2 separate regions of the Homo sapiens genome follow, and region 2 is linked to region 1. Evidence: promoter capture Hi-C in human tissues and cell types (Jung and others, 2019). All regions are on one chromosome and are shown on one strand. The core of a region is centred on a gene start or on the middle of the fragment in contact, and the rest is flanking DNA. Distances in the headings are between cores, read along the strand shown.

Region 1 (5,593 bases), core at 2,056-4,555:
TGATGTTATTTGAAACCAGGTTATTTGAGGACCTTCTGTACTTGATTTGCTTACCTGCTGTACTTTAATTTCCTTCAAGTCGCAGTTGCTAAGAACCTATTGATGACATTAAGGACTTACCGTATGCAGATGATTGCTTGGGGATTTGTGAAGGGGTCTCTCATTTTCTTGATGAGGTAAGGGTTGTACAGATATGTGATTCCCCTGATCCCTCTTCTCTCAGGTCACTCTACATGACATGATCCTGAAAAATATCGAGAAGATCAAACGGCCCCGGAGCAGCAATGCAGAGACTCTGTACTGAGGCCAGGGCCAGGGCCAGGGGACTCTGTGAGTCTGGCTCAAGACCGACATTGCCTTGGTTTGTTACATGACTATCGTGATGGGGAAACTGGCTGGAAATAGTAATCACACCTCTCTGTTTTTAGTTAGAGTCTAATGAAACTCTCATCTAGTTCTGTGATGTGTTTACCTCTTTTTTCAGGCCTCAGGAACTCTTCTATTTCCTTCCCTAATACCCCACACCCAACCTGTCGTAATTTCTGGAGAACTCCAGGTTTGTGTGTGCAGGATGTTGGCACAAAAATACCTGTGTTTTCATTCTCCCCCTCTCTCCCTCCTGTGTCTTGCGCTTTATGTTTTCTTCCGTTTGATAATTAGTTGGTTAAAAGCTGAGGGAACCGGAAGGAAAGTGCTAGGTGTTTTTTAGGAACTAGGGTGGCGGGGGGACGAACTTCTCTTCCTCACATGAGGTTACTGTTTCTTTCCTCTGTGGGGCATTGGATCCTCCCACAGTTGCCCTGGTGATGACTTAGGGCTTCCCATCTGTGTACATCCCACTTTGAATCTTGATCGTGACAAGAAATACCTTAGGCCTTCAGTCAATTCCGAAGCTCCTTCAGTTGTTTTTATAATGGGCGTTTTCACATGCACATATGTGTATGCATGTATACGCCCATACAGACATGCACACACAGACTCCTACTCCATTAGCTAACATACCCTCCCTCTCCACAACCCCTGTCACATACCTTTCAGGAGGTGACAGTTGTCTTAGTTGTCATCTACCCAGACAAACGTCCTGGGCCCGTCCTCCCTCCTGATACTGTAGCCTCTTGGTACCCAGGGTGAGTTGGTGGAGAACAGAGAGATGAGAAGCAGAGGGCTTGGGGAAAGCCTGTTCCTCTCTGACTCAGCCCTTTTTGGCATTATTGCAAGAGCTTGACTCCTGGTTGCCTTTTCCCAGCCAGTTTTCAGTTGGGGTGAAGGTTTCTGCAAGTGTGAGGTCCAGATGCTGCTGCTCATGTTGGGCTTTCCTTTTGGGAACTATTTCTCTTTATTTATAGTGTCGGGCTTCCGGGGAAAGCAATCATTGGTGTGTATGTGTATGTGCATGCACACACGTGCATATACACATTTGTGTATGTGGAAATGTGCTGGGCAAGTCAAAACTATAGAAGAGTTGCCTCCTGTCTCTCGAATCTTCCAGAGATATCACTTAATTGTTAACAGCTTTTGTGTTAATCCCCTTCAGCCCCTAGCTCTTTTATTCTACCACGGCTGGAGAGTTGATACCTGCAGTCAGCCTGCCAGTGACTCTTAGTGTCTGTTTCTGACTTATTTTTCCTGTCTCTGTCTTCCAACCCCCAATAATATTTCCACCGGGGATGCATCATTTTTACTCCCAATATTCTGTAGAGAGGGAGTCAGGATGCTGTCTTCCCACGAATAGTACTCAGTAACAAACCAATTGCATTTTAGTTGGGCAGTGCTCCCACCCACCCTCCAGATCCCTTCCAGCTAAAACCCTTCCCCCTTCCCTCCATGTGTTTCTCAGTTTCCCGTTTCGTTTGTTGGACTGTTCCACTGCCCCTCCTCCTCACCCTATCACCCATGGATCGTAATGTAAAATTCTTTTACCATGTCAAGAAATTATTAAAAATACAGGTACTTTGACCTCTTTCTAAAGCCGCAGACCCTGGTGCAATGCTCTGGTGGCTAGGGATGTACTCATGCTCATATGTGTGCACGCTTGGACACCCACCTCCATGGACACCTAGCCACCCTGTTGTGTGTCCTTATGCCAGTTGAGCTGAATCTTTTCCCCAGTATAGTGGAAAGACTGAGGCTTCTGCCTACTGAGCAAGGTTGGGTGCTTCATTTGTGTTCAGTCTGAATTATGGGAAAGTTAGCTCTTCCCAGACCTAAGCTGCCTTCTCTCCCTACTTTCAGAAGATCCTAGTTCCTTCCTTCCCGAGTGATACCCATGAACTGCCAGTAGAGGCTGCTATCGTTCCATGTGTAAGGAATGAACTGGTTCAAGGCGCGTCCTACCCAGTCATTTTCTTTACCTTATACTAATTCTTCCTGAATAATGTCTTCAGTTTCTTGAGGAGACTCCTAGTTTTGGTTTTCAAATTACTTGGAGGGCTGCCTAGGAATCTATCTCCCTCTGAAATAAAGTTTCCTCATCTTCCACCTTGCAAGTAGCCTTCTGGTTTCCAATGATCCCCTCGTTGTCTCTGTAAAAAGAGTTTAAGGTCTTGAACAATGGAGGAGCAGCTGCTCTGTTCTGTTTCAGAGATGACTACCAAAAGCTAGCGGTTTGTGAGTGCCTCCCCTGTGCCAGGCTGTTAAGTACCTAATGTGCATGATCACATTTAATCTTCAGGAATCTATAGGATAGTTGTATCTATTTGTTACAGATGAGGACACTGAGACTCAGGATAAGTATTTCCGCTAAGGTTACACAGCTGAGGGAACTGGGATTGGTGGACAAACCTGATTACTAAGCCCAGGCCCTCAGCCACTCCACTGGTTGGAAATGGCCTGACTACAAATCAAGGGCTTGGCATTAGGCAACAAGTAGAATTCAGTGCTTACTGCTGAACATGGCAGTGAATCCTGGAGCTGTTGGGATGCAGTTCCTGCCAGGAGGTAGGAAAATGGACAGCTTAGTGCTTGCATGCAGGCTGCAGAACTTAATTGGGCATCTGAGGTTTGTACTCTTCCTGAGACCCATTCCAGGTGGAAACTGGAGGTTAGCATCGTTAACCCAGATTCCCTTTCATCTGGTCTAAATGATGGAAATCAGTAGTTGGTACTGACTGCTACCAGTGGGAGTTCAGGGGCAAGGAAGAGGCTATGCATGTGGAAGCAGTGCCCTGGGCCAAACCACAGGACAGAAAATTGGAACAGAATTACATAAATCAAGGTCAGAAATTTCCTGCCCAACCCATGGGGTGGAGTTTTCTCCCTTCCTATCCATCCTAGCGAATATAAACCCCGACTTGATGTCAGTAACTGGAAGGAGCAGCTGTTAGAATTCTGATTTCAGCTCTCAGCATCCACCATGCATCTCAAGATAGTCCTGGCGTTCCTGGCACTGTCCCTCATTACCATCTTTGCCCTGGCCTATGTTTTGCTGACCAGCCCAGGTGGTTCCAGCCAGCCTCCCCACTGCCCCTCTGTATCCCATAGGGCCCAGCCCTGGCCACACCCTGGCCAGAGCCAGCTGTTTGCAGACCTGAGCCGAGAGGAGTTGACAGCTGTGATGCGCTTTCTGACCCAGCGGCTGGGGCCAGGGCTGGTGGACGCAGCCCAGGCTCAGCCCTCGGACAACTGCATCTTCTCAGTGGAGCTGCAGCTGCCCCCCAAGGCTGCAGCCCTGGCCCACCTGGACAGGGGGAGCCCCCCACCTGCCCGGGAGGCACTGGCCATCGTCCTCTTTGGTGGACAACCCCAACCCAATGTGAGTGAGCTGGTGGTGGGGCCGCTGCCTCACCCCTCGTACATGCGGGATGTGACTGTGGAGCGTCACGGCGGGCCCCTGCCCTATCACCGTCGCCCGGTGCTGAGAGCTGAGTTTACACAGATGTGGAGGCATCTGAAAGAGGTGGAGCTACCCAAGGCACCCATCTTCCTGTCGTCCACCTTCAACTACAATGGCTCTACCCTGGCAGCTGTGCATGCCACCCCTCGGGGCTTGCGCTCAGGGGACCGAGCTACCTGGATGGCCCTCTACCATAACATCTCAGGGGTTGGTCTTTTCCTTCACCCCGTGGGGCTGGAGCTACTACTGGACCACAGGGCCCTGGACCCTGCCCACTGGACTGTCCAGCAGGTCTTCTACCTTGGGCACTACTATGCAGACTTGGGCCAGTTGGAACGGGAGTTTAAGTCTGGCCGGTTGGAAGTGGTTAGAGTCCCTCTACCTCCACCAAATGGAGCTTCATCCCTGAGGTCTCGGAACTCTCCAGGTCCTCTTCCCCCTCTTCAGTTCTCGCCCCAGGGTTCCCAGTACAGTGTGCAAGGAAACCTGGTGGTATCCTCCCTCTGGTCATTTACCTTTGGCCATGGGGTGTTCAGCGGCCTGAGGATTTTTGATGTTCGGTTCCAGGGTGAGCGAATAGCCTATGAAGTCAGTGTCCAGGAGTGTGTATCTATCTATGGTGCCGATTCACCCAAGACGATGCTGACTCGCTATTTGGATAGCAGCTTTGGACTCGGCCGTAACAGCCGAGGCTTGGTGCGGGGAGTGGACTGCCCCTATCAAGCCACGATGGTGGACATCCATATATTAGTGGGCAAAGGGGCAGTCCAGCTGCTTCCAGGGGCTGTGTGTGTATTTGAGGAAGCCCAGGGACTGCCCCTTCGAAGGCACCACAATTACCTTCAAAATCATTTCTATGGTGGTTTGGCCAGCTCAGCCCTTGTGGTCAGGTCTGTGTCATCTGTGGGCAACTATGACTACATTTGGGACTTTGTGTTGTACCCAAATGGGGCACTTGAAGGGCGGGTCCATGCCACGGGTTATATCAACACAGCTTTCCTGAAAGGGGGAGAGGAGGGCCTCCTCTTTGGGAACCGTGTGGGGGAAAGAGTGCTGGGAACGGTGCACACACATGCCTTCCACTTCAAGCTGGACCTGGATGTGGCAGGTGAGTGCTGAGGGGATGAGGATGGAGACTTGGGGGCGGGGTCAGGTGGGGTGGAGGGAAGGGAAGGGAATCTCCCAGGTCAAGCTGAAATAACAAGTGGCAAGAGCAGGGTGTTCCAACACCACAGCTCTAGTGGCAACAGGGCAGGGACTGTTTGAGCATATTCAGTGCAGTGAGTCTGGTACTGGGCTACTGGGTATCTGGTAAAAGGTGAAAAGAGTTCCCCCGCCCAGCCCCTCTGACTTGCTATGATTGTGAAACTAGTTTAAATGTAATGGCTGGGCATGATTGCCTTAGCCTCAAGTGACACTGGGTGGGTGAACTGGCCCAATGGGGCTGGAGTTGGAGCACTTTGCTTCTTCCTAATTCTGAGGGTCAGTAGGGGTGGGGAGGGCAGGGTCCTGAGCCGAGGTCGGAAGAAGTCTGTCCAGAGTCTTCAGGGTGGGGGTCGACCTGGGGCTTAGGAAGGAGAGGGTAGCAAAGCTGGGGTTGCTCCCCAGGATAGGGCCACTCCTCATCGGGAGGGCCATCCCATTCCTGTCATCACAGTTGACTCATGGCAGGCACACAGCTTGCTGCAAGTATGGAAAGAGATTTCTCAAGCACAAAGGGCTCAAAGCACACAGAGGACTTGCTGTTCCTGACAGACTTTG
Region 2 (5,593 bases), core at 1,703-4,202, 130 kb before region 1:
AAGTAAAAGATAAGTACCCGGATGTCTCTGCTGACATCCAGGCCCCTGTCTTCTACCTGATATTAAAACTCCAGCTATGAAATGAAAATAGACATACACAGAATCACAAACAAAAAATATCTGAATAAAAAATTTTTTAAAACAGTATTCAGAAAAGGGAAACTGGGGCTGTAACTTAAAAAAAAAAAAAAGAGTCCCACATTTCTTTTCTTTTTGAGACAGAGTCTTGCTCTGTTGCCCAGGCTGGAGTGCAGTGGCACAATCTTGGCTCACTGGCAGCCTCTGCCCTCTGGGTTCAAGCAGTTCTTGTGCCTCAGCCTCCCAAGTAGCTGGGACTACAAGCATGTACCACCATGTCTGGCTAATTTTTGTATTCTTAGTAGAGACGGGGTTCACCATGTTGGCCAGGCTGGTCTTGAGTCCTGACCTTAAGTGATCTGCCCGACTTGGCCTTCCAAGTGCTGGGATTATAGGCGTGAGCCACCACACCTGGCCTAATTTTTTTATTTTTAGTAGAGATGAGGTTTCGCCAAGTTGGCCACGCTGGTCTTGAACTCCTGACCTCAAGTGATCCGCCTACCCAAAGTGCTGGGATTACAGGCGTGAGTGACTGCGCCTGCTGCCCCCCACATTTCTTAATTCTCCCCTAGAAGACAAAGTTGGGAAAGTATCTGATTTCTGTGTAATTGCTGCTTTTAGAATCATGAACCTAAACGTTTTCCAGAAACGACTCTCCCAGATCTCATGCACTTATTTCATTTGTAGAATCCCTAAAACACAGCAAAGGGGATATCAGAAGGCCATAAGCAGTAAAGGGCACAGGAATGGGGCAAGCCTAGGGCACACTGGAGCCAACTGTTTTGGTAGACTATACAGAAAACGTAGCACACTTACAGTCTGGGTTGCACTGGCAGAACTTCTCACAGAAATTCTGAGTCATGATGCAGGGGCAGGTGCTGTCACAGGGGCGGTCTGGGTGGTCGCAGGGTTGGTAGTTGTACACTTGTGTGGAAGAGTTATCTAGGAAAGAAAACAGAGGAGGATGCTGCTGTGACCATACTCTCCAGCTGTCTTCCCTCCCAAGTGTCCAGCTGCCCTGATTCAGAGGAGGCTGGTCCTAACAATCTCCTTGGACACACATTTAGCACCTGAAGTGAGAAGACAGGGATGACCGTTGTTCATAAGCTGCAGTGGGGTGATCTGCTTTGTGGGGAGGGTGTGGAGATGGTCTGGGACAACAGGGAAGCTATTCTAAACATTAAATGAGGTCTGGAACCTAGCAAATGGCACACTAGAAAAGTCACATACTGGCCAGGCACAGTGGCTCACGCCTGTAATCCCAGCACTTTGCGAGGCCGAGGCAGGTGGATCATTTGAGGTCAGGAGTTCGAGACCAGCCTGGCCAACATGGTGAAACCCCGTCTCTACTAAAAATACAAAAATTAGCCAGGCATGGTGGTACATGCCTGTAATCCCAGCTACTTGGGAAGCTGAGGCAGGAGAATTGCTTGAACCCGGGAGGCGGAGGTTGCAGTGAGCCAAGATTGTGCCACTGCACTCCAGCCTGGGTGACAGAGCGAGGCTCCATCTCAAAAAAAAGAAAAATCACAGACCACAAGGCCCTTAATGTTACCTCCTAAGAGGTCTTCTCAGTTGCAGTGAGAGGCTCAGCTGTTCTCAGTTGCTGCAGAGAATTCTGCAATCTGCGGAAGTGGCACAGGGTCAACAAGTGCAGCTGGAGGTGGGGTAGGGTGATGACCACAGAGTGAGGCCTCCAGCTGAACTGCTGAAGAATGCCCTGGTAGAACTTACCTTTCTTCAGCTGAATCTTCCTGCAGTGTGCAGCCCACAATCTGAAAAAGACAGGAAGGACAGGTCTCAGTCACGGCCCTAGGGAGCTCTGCAAATGCAGGTAAATGACAACGTGACTTGCTCTGAGGGACTGTGTTTGATGACTGGGGAGTATCTTCCCAAACCCCTCAACAGGACGACTTTGGTACACAGAAGCTAGAGTCCATCCTAAATCCAGCTGGCCTGTGCTACAAGAGTTAAACTTAAACACAACCCCTCCCAAACAAGCAAATAACATAAAAGAACACAACACAGAAATAAAAGAAAGCCCAAGCCTATTGGTCTATTATAAAGCTATTGTTTCTCTCCAAATCTCTCCCTTTGTCTTTGTGGAGGTGGAGATATGGGGGAGTTTCAAGATGGGGAGGTGGGAAGGCCTTTCAGGAATCTTCTCTGAAAGAACTGAAAGGGAGGAGCCACAGGGATTTCCTTCTGTATCTAGAAGTGGTGTCAGCTCCTTCCTCTGATAGGTGATAGTCACTAGGGAACAGGGCCAGGGTGCAGAATTTTTTTAAAAACTTCCAACCTAAGTAAAGGCTATCATGTAACTCAGAAAAACAACACAAACCAAACAAATAAATAAACTCTGATCAGAGTTGAGAAATGGGTAAGGTGGTAACAAAACCAACAAGGAGAAATGGCTTCAGGGTGGAGCCATGAGGCCAGCTCATGTCCTATTGGCCAGAAGCTTAAATAGAAAAACAGACAGTTATGGTCCACAGCACTGGGGGACAAGAAGAGGGCTGATCTAAGGCACAGACCCTCAGGGAGCACTCAGGAGGCTGGCTCTCAGTCATGTGATGCCAAGCTGATGGGCTCACACAGCCTGTGCGGTTGCTAAAGAGGGAGGCAGATGGGAACTCCAAGGGGAGGTCAGAGCACAGGGAACAGCCTGGCTGTAAAACAAAACACTTTGTCCAACCCTTCTTGCCTGTGCTTTCTTTTCTTCTTCTGTGAGGGGTTCATGAGCTCATCTGTTGGCAGCTTCAGGATAAGTGATTCTTTGACTGCAAACTGAAAGACCTGGAAGAGAAATCCAACGGGCCTGTCACTCCTCGAGCAAGGGGGTCAGGTAAGTGGCCCAGCTGGGTGCTGGCCTTGGGAGGGTTCTGAGAAACTCAGGCAGCTGACCAAGCCTCTCATCAGTCAGGGAGAGACAGAGTGCCACTGGAACATTGGGTTACTGGCTCTGAAGTTCATTCCTAATTATTTATCCTGACTCAGGAAAGGAGAAATACTGAGCACAGTAATACCGCCCCTGGTCAGAAGCTGTCACCTACTACTCTTTCTACCAAGCCACGGGTAGAAGAGTGGGCTGACTGTGACCAACAGTATCTTCTTCTTTTTAGGAAGGGCAACGCTGTGCCTTGTGTAACTGAGTGTAAGGCAGGACAGGACAGGACAGGAATGGTTTCAGTGGGCTAAATATTAGCTCCCTCTGTCAGTATAAAGATACCGGAGCCTCAGCCATTTCAATAGGATGTGTTTTTTCTCTTAAAGCACTGGTTTTTAGTTTTTCCTTTTCTTTGTTGGGGCTATTGGCCCTTTGTGGGGGATCTTTGAAAACTGTAACTATTCTCAGGAAAATACAGACAAGAACATTCTTGCATACAAATCCATAGATGGTTACGTTGAGAACCTGTGATCAGGGAAATAGGTATGAGCTCCAAAATGAAAGCAAAGGGCACTTCAGCTCATGGTTCTGTTTTTGTTTGTTTTTTTTTTTTTTTTTTAAGAGAGAGGGTCTCATACTCTTGGCCAGGCTGGAGTGCAGTGGTGCCATCATAGCTCAATGTAGTATAGAACTCCTGGGCTCAAGCCATCTTCCCACCTCAGCCTCCTGAGTACTAGGACTACAGGTACGTGGCTTTTTTTTTTTTTTTTTTTTTGTAGAAATGGGGTCTCACTTTGTTGCCCACACTGGTCCTGAAATCCTGGCTTCAAGCGATCCTCCCACCATGGCTTCCCAAAGCACTGGAATTCTAGGTGTGAGCCACCTTGCCCAGTCCATGGTTCTATTAATTGTTCTCAGTACAGGAAGCATGAAGAAGAGGCCACAGAGTCTCCTCCAGAAGGTAGGAAGCCAAAGCATTGGGGTTCCTTTCCTGTTGGACATGCTGGCCCTGACAGCTGCCTCCTTGTCCCTGTTCTTCAGTCTGTCTTCTCACTGTGGTCTTTTCCTGTCTTTTCCTGGGCCAATCACTTGAGGTCAGGAGTTTGAGACCAGCCTGGCCAACATGGTGAAACCCCATCTCTACTAAAAAAAAATACAAAAATGGCCAGGCACATTGGCTCATGCCTGTAATCCCAGCACTTTGGGAGGCCGAGGCGGGTGGATCACCTGAGGTCAGGAGTTTGAGACCAGCCTGGCCAACATGGTGAAACCCCGTCTCTATTACAAATACAAAATTAGCCGGGCGTGGTGGTGCACACCTGTAATCCCAGCTACTTGGGAGGCTGTGGCAGAAGAATCACTTGAACCTGGGAGGCGGAGGCTGCAGTGAGCTGAGATCATGCCACTGCACTCCAGCCTGGGCAACAGACCGAGACTCCATCTCAAAAAAACAAAACAAAAAAAATTAGCTGGGTGTGGTGGTGGGCACCTGTAATCCCAGTTGCTTGGGAGGATGAGGCAGAAGAATCACTTGAACTTGGGAGGCGGAGGTTGCAGTGAACCAAGATTATGCCACTGCACCACTCCAGCCTGGGCAACAGAGCGAGATTCTGTCTCAAAAAAAAAAAAAAATTAGCTGGGCATACTGGCCTGCACCTGTAGTCCCTTGCTACTTGCTTGGCTGAGGGGAGAGGACTGCTTGAGCCCAGGAGGCGGAGGTTGCAGTGAGCTATGATCATGCCACTGCACTCCAGCCTGGGCGACACAGTGAAACCCTGTCTCAAAGACAAAATAAAGATAATCTAGTGATAGAAAATGTGGAGAATAAAATGACTGAAGAGGCTGGCGGAGTGGTGGAGGGAGCAGCAGCTGCAGCAGCTGCAGCAGCAGCAGCAGTGTGCTCATTAACAAGAGCCACAGAAAGACCTGGGAGTCCCTTCTGGGAAAGGGGTACACATTTAGAAAGGAGGCCAGAGCCAAAAAAAAGAAGCGAAAGAGTGTAGGACCCAGAAGCATTAAATAGAGTCCAGACAGAAATGAGCATTCAGCAAGGAGGAGGCGGGTCCCCAAACATCATTAGGCCTGGCACTTGCAGAAGGGCCATGTTTGGGAAACTCACAGAAGCACAGGCTCATCAGGGACTGAACTTAAGACAACTTCTCTCCAGACCCAGACACACAGCCTGGTAAGATGGCAAAGGGCTGGACAGAGCAATGCGTGAAAGGAGGGGCCCATTTGTTCTGCTGCTTCCAGATGGTACCTGCTTGCACGTCTTGGTCCCCAGAAGCCTGGCTATTGAACAGAAGTTGTTGAAGTAGGTGCCATGGAAGACTCGAAAAAGAGATTCTTCAGCCCCAGTCCATTCCACAGGCTCCGAGGGTGCTTCCACTACGCAGAGTTGAGGTGGGGCTGGACTAGCCTTCTGTTTTGTGGGAGTCTGACAGCGAGAGTTAGCCTCTGAGAAGGGAAGAAATAACAGAATCAGAAGAAGGTAGAATGCAGTTGTCATCAGTAGTTTGTCACAAACTCAGAAGTACTTCATTCTACTTTAAAAGGTAGAACAGTTAGGAATGAAAATATTCCCTATCTTTAGGCCAGGCATGGTGGCTCACGCCTGTAATCCCTGCA

The links. Contacts are between HindIII fragments. The study calls those that stand out against the background at their distance.
Region 2: a contact is called between a fragment that was not itself captured here and the fragment with the promoter of AOC2 in region 1, in 1 of the 25 tissues and cell types used here (ovary).

The regions. Positions count from the first base shown.
Region 1 is chr17:42,841,275-42,846,867 of GRCh38, forward strand. It overlaps AOC2 (amine oxidase copper containing 2), which reads left to right and starts at 3,306. Exons shown (of 4, transcript NM_009590.4): 1 at 3,306-4,940. The coding sequence starts at 3,353. PSME3 (proteasome activator subunit 3) reads left to right here. Exons shown (of 11, transcript NM_005789.4): 11 at 224-2,486. The coding sequence ends at 304. The HindIII fragment of the contact is 18,620 bases long and covers 1-5,593 here.
Region 2 is chr17:42,707,064-42,712,656 of GRCh38, forward strand. It overlaps EZH1 (enhancer of zeste 1 polycomb repressive complex 2 subunit), which reads right to left. Exons shown (of 21, transcript NM_001991.5): 12 at 5,226-5,422; 13 at 2,783-2,874; 14 at 1,813-1,853; 15 at 895-1,020. MIR6780A (microRNA 6780a) reads right to left here and starts at 1,088; the gene lies at 1,021-1,088. The HindIII fragment of the contact is 8,591 bases long and covers 1-5,593 here.